Linked DNA regions of Homo sapiens: region 1 is linked to region 2. Evidence: promoter capture Hi-C in 16 types of primary human blood cells and fetal thymus (Javierre and others, 2016). All regions are on one chromosome and are shown on one strand. The core of a region is centred on a gene start or on the middle of the fragment in contact, and the rest is flanking DNA. Distances in the headings are between cores, read along the strand shown.

What was found. The method cuts DNA at HindIII sites, captures the fragments that hold promoters and counts their contacts. A CHiCAGO score of 5 or more calls a contact.
Region 1: a fragment that was not itself captured here is called in contact with the fragment with the promoter of GDF6 in region 2 in 2 of 17 cell types (total B cells and naive B cells); the score reaches 12.6 in total B cells.

The regions. Positions count from the first base shown.
Region 1 is chr8:94,809,053-94,816,648 of GRCh38, forward strand. No RefSeq gene overlaps it. Among named protein-coding and RNA genes, the nearest start is that of INTS8, 10 kb to the right of the region's middle. The HindIII fragment of the contact is 1,665 bases long and covers 2,278-3,942 here.
Region 2 is chr8:96,158,850-96,165,832 of GRCh38, forward strand. It overlaps GDF6 (growth differentiation factor 6), which reads right to left and starts at 1,957. Exons shown (of 2, transcript NM_001001557.4): 1 at 1,438-1,957. The coding sequence starts at 1,843. It overlaps LOC124901984 (a long non-coding RNA gene), which reads left to right and starts at 6,019. Exons shown (of 2, transcript XR_007061017.1): 1 at 6,019-6,183; 2 at 6,855-6,983. The HindIII fragment of the contact is 9,891 bases long and covers 174-6,983 here.

The DNA of each region.
Region 1 (7,596 bases), core at 1,860-4,359, 1.3 Mb before region 2:
TATATAAACTATATAATATTTATAAAATTTATATAATTATGTATATATTATTCTCCAAAAGCAAAAATTGTGTTATTATACAATGTCTCATTTTGTGGTGAAATACACTGCTTTAATTATTCCCCTGCTATAGAACATTGTGGTTATTTTTTTAATTTCTTACTATTTGTTTTGCTTTTATAAATAGCACTGTAATAGCATACTTATATCTAGGTCTAATATTATTCTTCTTTAAAAATCATCTTAGAGGCCAGGCATGGTGGCTCACGCCTGTAATCCCAGCACTTTGGGAGGCTGGGGCAGGTGGATCACGAGGTCAGGAGATTGAGACCATCCTGGCTAACACGGTAAAACCCCGTCTCTACTAAAAGTACAAAAATTAGCCAGGTGTGGTGGTGGGCGCCTGTAGTCCCAGCTACTTGGGAGGCTGAGGCTGGAGAATGGCGTGAACCCAGGAGGCGGAGCTTGCAGTGAGCTGAGATCGCACCACTGCACTCCAGCCTGGGTGACAGAGCGAGGCTGTCTCAAAAAACAAAAAAAGAAAAAAAAATCAACTCTTAGGCCAGGCACTGCAGCTCATGCCTTTAATCCCAGCACTTTGGGAGGCTGAGGCGGGAGGATCATTTGAGGTCAGGAGTTCGAGACCAGCCTGGCCAACATGGTGAAACCCCATCTCTACAGTACAGTGAACTTCAATTTTGTTAAATGTGGCTGAGAGGCCCAAGGAGATGGCTCATATGCCTGTAATCCCAGCTAAGACAGGAGGATCATTTGAGGGCGGGAGTTCAAGACCAGCCTGGGCAACAGGGCAAGATTTCCATCTCTATCAAAAAATATGAAGGAATGTGTAAATAAGTGTGGCTGAGAATTTCTTCCATATGAATTCTAGAGAATAGTGCTTCTCGGCCGGGTGTGGTGGCTCACGCTTGTAATCCCAGCACTTTGGGAGGCTAAGGCGGGAGGATCACCTGAGGTCGGGAGTTCAAGACCAGCCTGACCAACATGGAGAAACCCCGTCTCTACTCAAAATACAAAATTAGCCAAGCGTGGTGGCACATACCTGTAATCCCAGCTACTCGGGAGGCTGAGGCAGGAGAATCGCTTGAACCCAGGAGGCGGAGGTTGCGGTGAGCCGAGATAGAGATTGCGGCATTGCACTCCAGCCTGGGAAACAAGTGCAAAACTCTGTCTCAAAAAAAAAAAAAAAAAAAAAAAGAATAGTGCTTCTCGAAATATCTATGGTGGAGAAGCAGTTTTATTTTGTGTTCCATGTTGCAATCTGTTGCACACTGATATGTGGTCCTACCGTTTAGGACTAGTTCCCAGCTCTGCATGTTGAATTTGCCACCCAAGTCCCCCAACACCCAAACTCTTCTGTCCCTGCTCCCCCAGACAAGACCACTGATCATTAACTTGGCTATCAAGACAATGTCAAATTGCAGTAAAAATTTGTAAATTCATACTGTCAATTCCCGTGCTTATCTTGATACCGACCAGAAACAGTTTAGGAGCTGACACCAGTCTTCAAACCATACTTTGAATATCTCTGTTCTCTGCTTTGTGTGTATGTGGTCTAAGAACTGGATATTTGAAGAAATCACATTATTTGCCCGCACATGCTCATCTGCTCTAATTCTGAAATTGTCTGGATAAGACTTTGGAAACTTGGCTTATTCCATTATAACGAATGAAGTCAACTGCTTGCTAAGAGCTGTGTGCCTACCACAGACAATTATGATCTTTCAACAGCATGGGGAAATACAGGAGTAAATACAGCCTGTGGTATCCTGATAGTATTTTAATATGACAATCTTTTTCTACCTACTGAGAATGTCAGGAAAGTTCTGACTCTAAAAGCACACCTTAAAATTTTGTCCTGTTTATCTGTATGCAGAGAGATTTTTATGCTTTAAAGCCTTTAGTGTAAACATATAGTACTTGGAAGTAAAAACAAAAAGAGAGACTAACATGAAAGCTCCTGTGACTTCTCCTCTAGATGCCAGCTGGTCGAATGTACATGACAGACCACTAGCCAGTCTGAAGAACTGAGCCCTTCCCCACAGTGAGCCTGGCAATGCAGAAATGGAGACGGAGGAGTCTGTCTGGCCCAGTCCCCAATCAAGCCTGTCTATCTTTTTGTTAGGCCATTCTTGCATTGCTATAAAGGAATAATTGAGACTGGATAATTTATAAAGAAAAGAGATTTAATTGGTTCACTGTTCTGTAGGCTGTACAGGAAGCATGGTACTGCCATCTGCCTCTGGGGAGGCCTCAGGAAGCTTCCAATCCTGGCAAAAGGCAAAGGGGAGCAGGCATCTCACAGGGTGAGAGCAAGAGCAAGAGAGTTCAGGGGAGGTATCACACATTTTTTTTCTTCTTTTTGAGACAGAGTCTCCTTCTGTCACCCAGGCTGGAGTGCAGTGGCGCAATCTCAGCTCACTGCGACCTCTACCACAGCCTCCCGAGTAGCTGGGATTACAGGTATGTGCCACCATGGCTGGCTAATTTTGTATTTTTAATGGAGGTTTCATCACGTTGTTAAGGCTGGACTAGAACTCCTGACCTCAAGTGATTTGCCCACCTTGGCCTCCTAAAGTGCTGGGATTATAGGCATGAGCCACTGCGCCCGGCCAAGTACCACACACTTTTAAACAATCAGATCTCAAACTCACTCAGTATTACAAAGACAACACCAAGATGATGGTGCTAAACCATTCATGAGAAATCCACCCCCATGATCCAGTTACCTCCCACTAGGCCCCTTCTCCAACACTGGGGATTATAATTCAACATGAGATTTAGAAGGGACAACATCCAAACTATAGCAATCACTGTACAGAAGGTTATAAAGGAAGGTAGCAGGCGGTTGCCAGATGAAAGTGGAATGACCTCTGCTCTGGCTATGTCATGGCAATAAGGACACACCTGTTCCTTCCATTAGGTGAATAAGGCCTACATTCGGTTATCCATTCAGCTAGGTGCTGTATGGATAACACAAATACAGATGTATAGACATGGACACTGCTTGGAAGAGCTGTAGAGGTAAAGGAAAACTTCTGCTTCATCCTCTGAAGGTTCACTGAAAATCAGCTAACAGAAGGCAGGTAAATAGAAGAAAAGGCATATAAGTTTATTTGATCATAGCTTTTTGTGACATGAGAGCCTTCAGAATGAAGACTCAAAGATACCGGGGAACCTGTCCATTGTATGCTTAGTTTCAACAAAGTATGAACAGCCATGTACAGATGTAATTGGACAAAAAGAGTATGACTTAACCATAATAGACTGAGTGGGGACACCCTGCAAGGTCTGTCTAGATTCTTCTTGGCTTCTCAGTGCAGCATTCCTTCCTACTGGGGACAGGGCAGCACCCTCTCTGGAATGGGGGTCTCATGACCTATAACCAAACAACATAGCTGGGCACTTTGGGCGGCCGAGGCAGGTGGATCACCTGAGGTCAGGAGTTCGAGACCAGCCTGGCTAACATGGTGAAACCCCATCTCTACTAAAAATACAAAAATTAGATGTGCATGGTGGTGTGCGCCTGTAGTCCCAGCTACTAGGGAGGCTGAGGCAGGAGCATCATTTGAACCTGGGAGGCAGAGGTTGCAGTAAGCCAAGATTGCACCACTGCACTCCAGCCTGGATGACAGAGTGAGACCCCGTCTCAAAAAGCAACAAACAAACAAACAAAACCCCCAAAACCAAGGTAGCTCACATAATTTTTTAATGTCAGTTTTTACACAGAAAAATGGGTGGGAGGGTGAAGTTAGAGTAATATTATTAGGTTTGATGGCTAGCTCCAGGGAAAAGGGGTTCTGGTTTCTATGGCAAGCCTTAGGGGAGAATGATGGTCCAGAGACAGGAGGTCAGGAGAGGGTCAGAGAGAAACTTATGTCTCTGGGGCCTTCATTTTAGGGTATCGTTTTCTGAGCCCCAACAAGCTTTAAGTTTATTGCTGATTATAAAACCTAGACAATAGAGTGAGTCATAAATATCTTAAGAACAGGTTAATAATGCTTTAGGTTAGATAAAGCAAAGATTAAATAAAGGTTTGTAGATCTGGTTTATAGGGAAGCATTTGCATGCATGTAAAAGGCAGGTGCTTTGTGTTTAATAAAAGATTTATTTATTTAGCAAATATTTACTGGGTGCCTGCTGTGTACTAGAGGCTGTACCAGGTAAACGGTATAACCACCATTCTGCTCTCCCCCACCCCCACCTCCAAGATCTTGGAGTCTACCGGGGAAGTGAGACTGTTAAATAGGTAACTGCAAGGAGGTGATATGAATGCCATGACCGGGATGCACAGCTCTATGGCCACATACAACAGGGTGCCTACCTGTCCAAGGAGGTAGTGAAGACCGCAGAGAAAAGTCATGTTTGGTAGGACTCGCTTATTACCTCTTGACAGATCTGTTTTTGGAAGTCCCTAACAAGATGTAATTCAGTTAGGTGTTGCAGGATAGCTTGTACAAAGAATTAGTTACTTCCAATCACAATCCTCAAGTCATATTCCTTCTTCCATACTGGAAAGTATAAGGAAGAGGTGATACCAGCCAGCCGGTATTACCGGTAGATATGGACACTATCCCTAATGGCCACAAGATGGCAGTAGAATCCATCAGCCAGTTTCCCCCACCTCAAAAATATTTATTGAATAAAGTTTTAAATTGTATGTTTATGTCTGAATTGTATTGCATATTTTTTTAAAGAAATACCAAAGAAATTAACCGATTTCAAGTTTTTTGTTTGTTTCGAGAGAGAGTCTGTCTCTGTTGCCCAGGCTGGAGTGCAGCGGCGCGATCTCGGCTCACTGCAACCTCTGCCTCCTGGGTTCAGGCGATTCTCCTGCCTCAGCCTCCCGATTTGCTGGGATTACAGGCGTGCGCCACCTCCCCCAGCTAATTTTTTTATTTTTTAGTAGAAATGAGGTTTCACCATGTTGGCCAGGCTGGTCTCGAACTCCCGACCTTAGGTGATCCACCCGCCTCAGCCTCCCAAAGTGCTGGGATTATAGGCGTGAGCCACCGTGCCCGTCCTAGTTTATTTTTTTATTTATGTGATTTTCAGAAGTCCTTGGTGAAAATAATTTTCATCCTTAGACTGTATAATATCTCTGCTTTTTTATTTTTATTTTTTCACTGTAGCTCATCTAGTTTGCTGTACTTTGTAGAGACCCAGATTTCAGAGGCAACGAGTCTCTGAGCTACCAGAATAACAAGGAAGCAGGGAGGATGTAAAAGAAAACATTTTAAACTATCATGAAGGAGGAGAGCAGGACTAGATACTGTGGTTTATGATCAACATAAAACAGAAACTTCTACTTGATGGTAACTGGTAAACATATACAGCATATGAACCTTGCCAGGGGCCCTGCAAATACATAATTATCACTATAAAAGGGGTTTGCCAGAATTTCACTTATTCTTATGATGTTACTAAATCTGCTACCACCTCATTTGTGAATTTTTCCTTGATCTGAAGCTAAACACTCTAGAACATTTCAGGCCTTGTGACATTTTCCAGGCTGTTTGACTAATTGATAATTAACTACAAGCTTCCTTTCTCATCTTCTCCATGTGGAGATGTCAGCACGCAGTATCCAAGCAGATGGGGACAAGGTGAGGGGTGTGGTTGCACAGGTGGTGTGCCTGGGGTTAGAGTGTGCCCACACTGAGGGGTTACCGGAATGCAGGACTTTCAGTTTTAAAACTGACATAGTCCTGGCCAAGCGGGGATGAGTTGGTGCTATGGTTTTAATGTTTTTGCCTCCTCCAAAATTAATGTGTTGGAAACATAATTATTCTTATGCAACAGTATTGGGAGGTGAGGCCTTTTGGGAGGTGTTTAGGTCGTGAGGACTCTGCCCTCATAAAGTATGAATGCTGCCATAAAAAAGGGCTTGCAGGAGTGGTTCGTTCTCCCTTGTTCTTCTGCCTTTCTGCTGTGTGAGGACACAGCAGTCCTCTCTGTAGGATGCAGCAACAAGGTGACATCTCAGAACCAGAGGCTAAACCTTGATCTTGGACTTCCCAGCCTCTAGAAATGTGAGAAATAAATTTCTGTTCCTTAGAAATTACCCAGTCTCAGGTATTCCATTATAGCAGCACAAAATGGACTAAGAGAGTTGGTCACTCTACCCAGTATACAAGGAAGTAGGGAGCTGTTGTGGAGAGAGGGTGAGAGGAAGTATGGTAAAATATTAACAATGGACACATTTGGGTGAAGGGGATAGGAGAGTTCTTTATACTGTTCTTAAATTTTTTTCATGTATTTACAACTATTTTTAAAAACAAACAAAAAAACCGGCTGGACACAGTGGCCCTCGCCTGTAATCCCAGCACTTTGGGAGGCCGAAGAGGGCGGATGACCTGAGGTTAGGAGCTTGAGACTAGCCTGTCCAACATGGTGAAACCCCATCTCTACTCAAATACAAAAATTAGCTGGGCGTGGTGGTTAGTCCCAGCTACTTGGGAGGCTGAGGCAGGAGAATTGCTTGAACCTGGGAGGCAGAGGTTGCAGTGAGCCGAGATTGTGCCACTGCACTCCAGCCTGGGTGACAGAGCAAGACTCTGTCTTAAAAAAATAATAAATAAGTAAATAAACAAATAGCATACAAATTTGATGGAACTTTTATTATCATTTCACTGAATCTGTAGATAAATTTGAGAATACAGTAATCAGCCTCCCTCTCTAGGAGCAGAATTTTTCTCTCCATTTATTTAGATCCTTCATGTTTTTGAATAACATTTTTATTATTTTCTTCATATAGGTCTTCCACATGCGATCTTGCCCTCATGATCTAATCACTTCCCAAAGGAGGCCCCTCCCTTCTAACCTTGGGGGTTAGTTTGCTTTCCTTTTTCTTTTCTTTTCTTTTCTTTTTTTTTTTTTTTTTTTTGAGATGGAATCTCGCTCTTGTCGCCCAGGCAAAAGTGCAGTGGTGCGATTTCGGCTCACTGCAACGTCCGCCTCCTGGGTTCAAGCGATTCTCATTACTCAGCCTCCCAAGTAGCTGGGATTACAGGCGCCCATGCCCACGCCTGGCTGATAGTTGTATTTTTAGTAGACAGGGTTTCACCATGTTGGCCAGGCTGGTCTTGAACTCCTTACCTCAGGTGATCCGCCCGCCTCGGCCTCCCAAAGTGCTGGGATTACAGGCGTGAGCCACCATGCATGGTCTAGTTTTCAACACATGAATGTGGGGGGAACACAAACATTCAGACCATAGCAGTGGTTCAATTTAACGAAGGTCATATCAGGGACCAAACCCTGGTTCTAACATTTATTCTCTGGGAGACTTTGACGAAGCTACTGATCTACTTATTCTGCTCCTAGATAAGGAGTCTCATTACTGTATTATCAAGTTTATCTATAGATTTGGTGCAATTATAATAAAAGTTCCACCAAATTTGTGTGCTATTGATTTTTTGTTTTTTAAATAGTTGTAAATCCACAGAAAAAAAATTAAGAACAATAACTTCTCTGATCCTCAGCTTCTTCAGCTGTAAGGTGAGCTCATAATTCCTACTTTCTAGGATGTTGAAAGATCAAATGAGAAAACGAGGATATAAAGGCCCTAATTTGGGTCAT
Region 2 (6,983 bases), core at 707-3,206:
TACCTGGCGTTAATTTGCCCTCTGGACCTTTCAGCAGCTCATGAACCTCGCTGACCTCGGGCTGCAGCGGCGAGACCCTCGAGCAAGGAACGCGACTATGAGTGAGAGGCGGGGACTGGAGCCGGGGAAGAGCTCGGGGCTGGGGGCGGGGGGGCCGTTAGCCTGCTCTAAAAAGCTTAAGAGATGTGCGAGCACCCAGGGTAGCAGTGGCTGAAGCAGCTTCCGAATCCCGAACCCCAGCGCTGCAAGGTTTCCGGGCAACCCCACTTAACTGGGAGCAGGTCAAAGTCATGGAGCTAAGTCTAGGGAGGATGGAGGAGTGGATATCTGCCTAAATCGCTTTTATCCCGTCATTTTCTTCCTTCCTTCTCTTTACTCTTCCTTTCCTTTTTCTCCCTTCCTTTCCTGTCTCCTTCCACATTATTGTCTCTCTCCTTTAGGAGCTTAGTTTCCGATGCCTGTGGATCCTTCCCTGATTTCTGGGACCAGAGGTGGTGCGAGGTTTTCTTGAGGGCACTGGCCACGCTGCAGATCAACGCCGGTGGCAAGAAGGGGCCGCAAGGGTTTCCGCAGACACCCACACATGCAGGCGTTCCCACAGAGGGTACCAGGGATTTCCCAGACCCCCACCAGCCCTCAGGAATAGCGTAGAGAGAGGAACGTCGCCTGGCTGAGAAAGGTGGATGGGCATACCCATGTACCTTTGTGTATTAAGTACCCACAACCTCCGAACTTAGCCGTCCCTGTCCCGGCCCGCCCAACTGCTGCCGCCGCATCTGCAGAAACCACTCGTGTTGAGGCCTCGGAGCAGCCGGGAGCACCACGCTGGAGCAAAAAAGCCGGAGGGCGCAGGGCTCCAGCCCGGCTGACCATCCCACCCAGCGCAGGGACCAACGGAAAACCCGCGCGGCGCCAGGACCAGGGGGCTGCCCGACGCCGCTCGCGGACTAGTTCCTCAGACTGTGGGACTCCCTAGTGCCGGCTTTGCCCAGGGCTTTCCAAGGCTGTCTCATGCCCTAGATCTGCCCCAGCAGCTCAGGCCTTGGACTGCGAACCCAGTATCCCGAGACACCGATTCCATCAGTCCCCATCCCGACCCCTCTCCAGCCGGGTTCATCCGCCTGCTGCCTCCCGTCCTCCACGTTTCCCCCACCAGCCACCAACAAGCGGCAACCACGCTGCCTTCTGCAAAAGAGGAAGAAGGAAAGAAGGGAGAGAGAAAGAAAGGGGGGGAAAGGAAGGGAGGTTTAGAGACTGGAATAGAATCCGCAGCCACATTCAGAAACTTACTCGAGCTTGAGAAAAACAATTTAAGAAAAGTAAAAAGGAAGTGTCCAGAGCAGGAAGGGAATTCACAAATGTAGCCTCCAGCGGGAACAGCTCCCTGGCTGCCGAGCTCCAGCGGGAGGGGAGTCGAGCGTTTTCTTTGCCACTTACCTAGTCCCCTGTCTACAAAGCTGGTGATCGTATTAGCCGACTTGGAAGACTGGAAAAAGCTGGCATTGATGCCCAGCTTCTCAGCGATGGAGTAAGTCCTGTAGATTGACAGCATGTACTCGTGGGGCACCACGCGCGGACCCCTGCCTGGCGGCTCCTGCGCCCGGGGCTGCTGAGCCCGGGGTTCGTCCTGAGGCCGCGGCTGTGGTTCCTGGCCCTCCCGGCCCGCGTCACTGTCGCGCGGCGCCCGCTGCATCTTGCCTTCCTTGCGGCTTCGCATGCCCTTGGTGGAACCCAGCTCGGCGGACGACGAGGAGGATGAGATGGAAGCCTGCTGGAAACCGGGCAAATCCCACAGAAAACTGATGAGGAAGACGGCCGAGAGCAGGACCCTGGGAGTATCCATGGCGGGCAAGTGGCTGCGTCTCCCCAGGAGGCGGTGGCGGCGGCGCAGGACGCGCGGGGCACGGAGCGGCTGGACAGCGGCCGGGGCCCGGCTCCTCGGGCGGACTCGGAGTGCGAGGAGCCGGGTCCCAGCCACACAAACCCCGGCCCCGCCACGCCCCCTCCCGCCCCTCGCCGGGAGGGGAGGAATGGGGAGGGAGGGCAGAGGAGGGGTGGGGAGGGTGGGAGGAGAGCCGGGTGGTGCGGGCCGGAGGTGTGGGGGAGAGGGGCCGCGGTGCGCCGGTGTGGCAGGAAGACGCAGCGCCCCCGCGGGACGCGCGCGGGGTTGCCGGGCGGTGCGCGCGGCGCGGGCCGCAAGCGCTGACCGGGGGAAGGCGGGCGCTGCCGGCCCGTGGCCGGGGAGCAAAGGCTGGCCCGCCGCGCCAGGGTCCCCCTCGAACTCCCGGAGGTGTGGTCCCTCCGCAGCGCGGCCCCGGCTCTCGGTCCTCGCCAGCCGCCTCCACTTTCCTGGGAGCGAGCGGCCCCGGAGGAGGGAAGCGGCGGCGGCGCCCCCAAGAGACAGCTTGGAGCAGGCGCCTCTGCTGCAGGCTGCGTGCTGCCTCGGGGCGGTGGTACCCTCCCTCCTCGGCCCCAACCGCCAGGCCTGCCGTTTGCGCCCCTCAGGGGCCAGCCCGGAGCCAGAGAAGCCTCGCCCTGGGCCAGGCGCAGGGCCCAGCTCGGAACAGCCCCATTTTCTCGGTTGGGTATCGCTCTCCACAAAGACAGGCGTCTATTCCCGACCCTCGAGGTCAGGCAAAGGCCACGAGTCTTTAGAGTTTGGATCGATGCTAAAAGCTGCTGCGCTCCCCTGCAGGCCCCAGCCTCTCCTCTCGCAGTCCCCAACCTCTTCTGACGCAGACTTTAGCTGCTCCACTTCTTCGTCTGCTCCCGGGATCCTCTCCCTCTCGCGGCCTGCCCCCCGCCTCCACTGCATCCCCATTTTCCCTCTCTTCTTTCCCTCCCGCCTGCAGGACTTCCTCCTTCCCCAAGTTCCTTCTGCATTCCAATCCCTCTTCCCCAGCCTGCTTTTCTTCTCACACTGCCCTCCCATCTCACACTGCCTTCCCACCCTCTCTCTTCCCGGCCTCCCCCCTCGCCTTCCAGTGGACCCCTCCCTTTGCAGCTCTACCCCAATCTGTTTCTCTTCAGCCCAGCCTCGCCCCATCACGAGTTTCCTTTATCTGTCCCCAGATTCCCCGTGCCTGTCTTCCCCGCCCACTGCCTCGCTCATTCCTGGGCCTGCACGCTGAAAGGCGATGCGGCGTAGCGCTGCTTCTGTCTGCCACAGTGCTCTGCCCTGGACTGCTATGGGCAGAAGAGTTTCCCTCAGTACTGATTGGGTGCTCAGGCACCAACCATAAAGTACCCTCCTTTAATCGTGCCAACAGCTTTGTGAGGTTGGCGTTGACTATTTTCACCTTCACGGATGGAAAAAAAAAAGACTCAATGGAAATAAGTGACTTTTCCAAGGCCACTCTGCCAAGAGGTTATGCAGCAAGGGACAGAACCCAGGCTCCCACCCCAAGCCCAAGATTCTTCCCACTACAGCATAGACAGTCATTCCTGGCCCAACTTCTCTATTTCAGTTCTGGCTTTTTTCTTCTCTTTATGGTTTCACTTGATCTCAGGTGGCTTCTTTCTCCGCCATGCTACTTTCTGTGTGTGTTCCCAGTCTCTCCAATCTCCTCCCTCTCACTTTCTAACCCCTTCTTCCTTTTGCTTTTTCATCACCTCTTCTGTCCTGCAGGGACCACTCACATGACAGCCTGCAGGGGGAGGGAGTTTTGCTGCGCTGCTCCCCTCATCCTTTAACTTCCTTAAGGTCTGGGATATGCCCTCCACCCTGGACACTGGCCTCCTCCAGGTAATGGCAAGCACCCACAGAGAACTTGTGTGTCAGTCATGGTTTGAAGCCCTTCGCCAATATTATTTTACTTAATCTTCACAGCAATCCTGAAATAAGTGCTGTATTATTCCTATTTTACAGATAGGGAAAGTGAGGCCCAGGGTCACACTACTCCAGAGTCTGGGCTCTTAATCACTGGGCTATTGAGCTTGGCTGCTCTCCCCTTGGTCTCCGTGGATGCCCCTTCTGGCCCTATCCCAATTCTACTTATGTCCCCTAGTTTGGGTTTCATGGTTGTCAAGTTCTGAGACCTTATACTTGAAGGTGCTTTTACTATAATATTTTCTTCCTTCCTCTCTCTGTGCTTTAAAATGGCTTGTTAATATTTACAATAAAATAAAATAAAAGGAGATAAACTGAAAGAAAAAATTATTTCTCAAATTTTTGCCACTACAACAAATCCAAATGTTTTTACCTTTTGGGTTCCCTTCCACTCCTTCTTTATTTGTTATGCACATATCCTTTTCATATTATTGTAATCCAGGGATAGATATTATGTTGGATTCCTCCCTTGTCACTTAACATTTTACAACCAAATCCACTGCCTTCGATGTCTCTCCCCTATGTCCCCCCTTCACTGCCCCTCTGCTGGCCTGCAAATGCAATCTCTGTAAAACCACAGACTCAAAACTCCCCATTTCTCATTTGCAGAAGGAACATTTCCCCCCTGCCTACCTGTCGCCTGTGGGATGTAAGTGGTCTTTTTTGGCCTGCCCTGTGTCTTGCTCTGTATGTCTGCCTCTCAAGTGTCATCCGGGAAAGTGCCCTCCTTGTGATCTATTTCCATCCCTTCCCCAGGAAACAACACTTGTGGTTTGTGTTATCAATATTTTAATTTCTATCAGTATGGTGCCTGGTTAACAATGATTCATAGTTTTACAGTTTCAGACCCTCCATCCAATAAGTACTGTATGTTTCCTGCCTGCAGAGGCAACTCTATGTGTTCTCTCTTCATTTTGCCCACAGCAATTATTATCTGCTGCAAGTTATCAGTAAACAGGAAACAAAGTAATGAGCCTATTGCTGTGGTTTAGGACCTCTCAGCCTGCTAGATGGAGCCACACGGAACAGTAAATGACACTGAAACAGGGACCACAAAGGCCATGGTCTGTTGTCCTTCAGGATTCCCCTGGGGCTGACATTACCCTCCGTCATCGCTATCAGCCTCGGGTCTTTGCAAGAAAAGTTCTAGCTGGTCTTTGCCTGAAAGGGCTGCAGCGATCATTTTACAGGTGAGGAAACAGAGGTGCAGACAAACTCAGTGGAGAGAGCCCGAGGTTTTAAACTAGTCCAAAATACAGCTAGGATTAGGAGCCAAGACATTCTGACTCCTAAGCGAATGCTTCTCCTGTATTAAAAAAAAAATTTCAAAGATCATGACAATGACCCACAGTAGTATATAGTGTCTGATCTCTTCCTCTCCAGTGGGTAAATTTCAGATAGTTTCAGATAGGAATCCACCCCAATGTGGAGACCACACCAAAGCCTTTGCACTCATGCTGTCTTTCTCTCTCTCTCTCTCTCTCTCTCTTGCTCTCTCTCTCTCTGTGTGTGTGTGTGTGTGTGTGTGTGTGTGTGTGTGTGTGAAAAATAAAGATACGAAGAGCAAACCACAAGTCCAAATCTGCTTTTAAGATCTCTTCAGGGAACATTTTGAGTCTTTGAACTAGTGCTATAGAATTTAAATTTTCGATCTAATCTTAGATGTTCTAGTAATCTTAAACAACTTTATCTGTGAAAAATGTTAGAAAAGTGAAAGTTTCTTGAGATGCATTGAGAAGGTCTGATGTGAGCACCGTGGCATTCTTGTAGTGGTTAGATTTTTCTACACCAAACAGATGGAAGACGTACAACTGTGCAGTATGGTATCTCCTGCCCCCCTGTGGACGCCGACGGAGTTACCTGTGGAGAACCAAAACAATACTGGACAGGAGCATGCTTACAGGCACTTTCAAAGTTGAGCAAGGGATAGTGGCATCTATTAACATAATTTTAAGAAATCAGAGAGTCATGTCTAAGGTATGTGTATCATTTGGCAACAAAACATCCATAAATGAGAGATCTGTCCACCCAGAGATACAGGACCAAAAGCAAATAGAATTATCCTGTTATTATCTCAAATCGGTGCTGGTATTGTTTTAAAATTATTATTTTACAATAATCTAGGGAGAGAAGATTCTCTTAAATAAGTAGAAGACTTTATATCTTTTGTTATTTCATTTTTCATTCAGGTGTCACTCCAAAGACAACTTTTATAACAATGACTGAGGATGTTGGACTTTGGTATGGACTCCACCTAGCTGTGAAGTAACCATACTTTAAGGGGCTCTGGAAATATACTCTAGAAAGATGTCTTAGCACCTGAAATTTTGCAAAAATAAAGTCACTTCTTTAAGGTACTTTCTTTATAAGACCCCTGTTGAAACACAAACATTATCTAGTAGGATCCCTATTCGTATTTTACTACCACTATTAGACTATTCCAAATAAACTAATAATCCTGTAAGACTGGCTAGCTGACACCTATTTGGTCTAAAAGTAATGAGACTTAAGATTGGTGGATTTTGATTATAAGAAGACAGAAAGGGCTGGGTTTTAAATTCTGTTCCTTTGCACTCCTAGAGCCTCTGGCAAGAATAAGGAAGAAACCAATCAGGTGCACCTCAGGTTACCCACACTTGCTTCAGCCTGAGCAGTCCTGCTTTTATCTGTTTTAGACAGTCTCATAAAATTTCATCTGCAAAAAGATCCCTCAAAAAAAGAAAAGAAAATGAAAGCTATTGGCTTAGAGTACTGGGTAGTGTTCCTCAGAGGGTGGTCAGGGTGAAAAATGCGTGAAGTCTTGAGCAGCAGGAGGAAAGCTAAAGACTCTGCTTCAGGAAAGTGGAAGAAGAGGCAAAAAAAAAAAAAACCAAAAAAAACCTGTGACAGATACACACAAAATACAGCTTCTCCTTTATCTCTTAGACTGGGAGGTACCAGCCCTATTAATACCCTCTGTTTTCCCTAATTTATATTGAGACTGATTATTCCATTTCTTTTGTTTATTTATTTGTTTCCTTGGCAGAATAATTTACAGAGAAGTTAAGTGAAACGAGTTGTGCCAGATGACAGAATACTCTGGGTCTCAGCGTCCCCCCACCATCAGCTGAACGGGGTCTCAGTGAAAGGCAAATCAGAGATTCAGTTGGTCCCA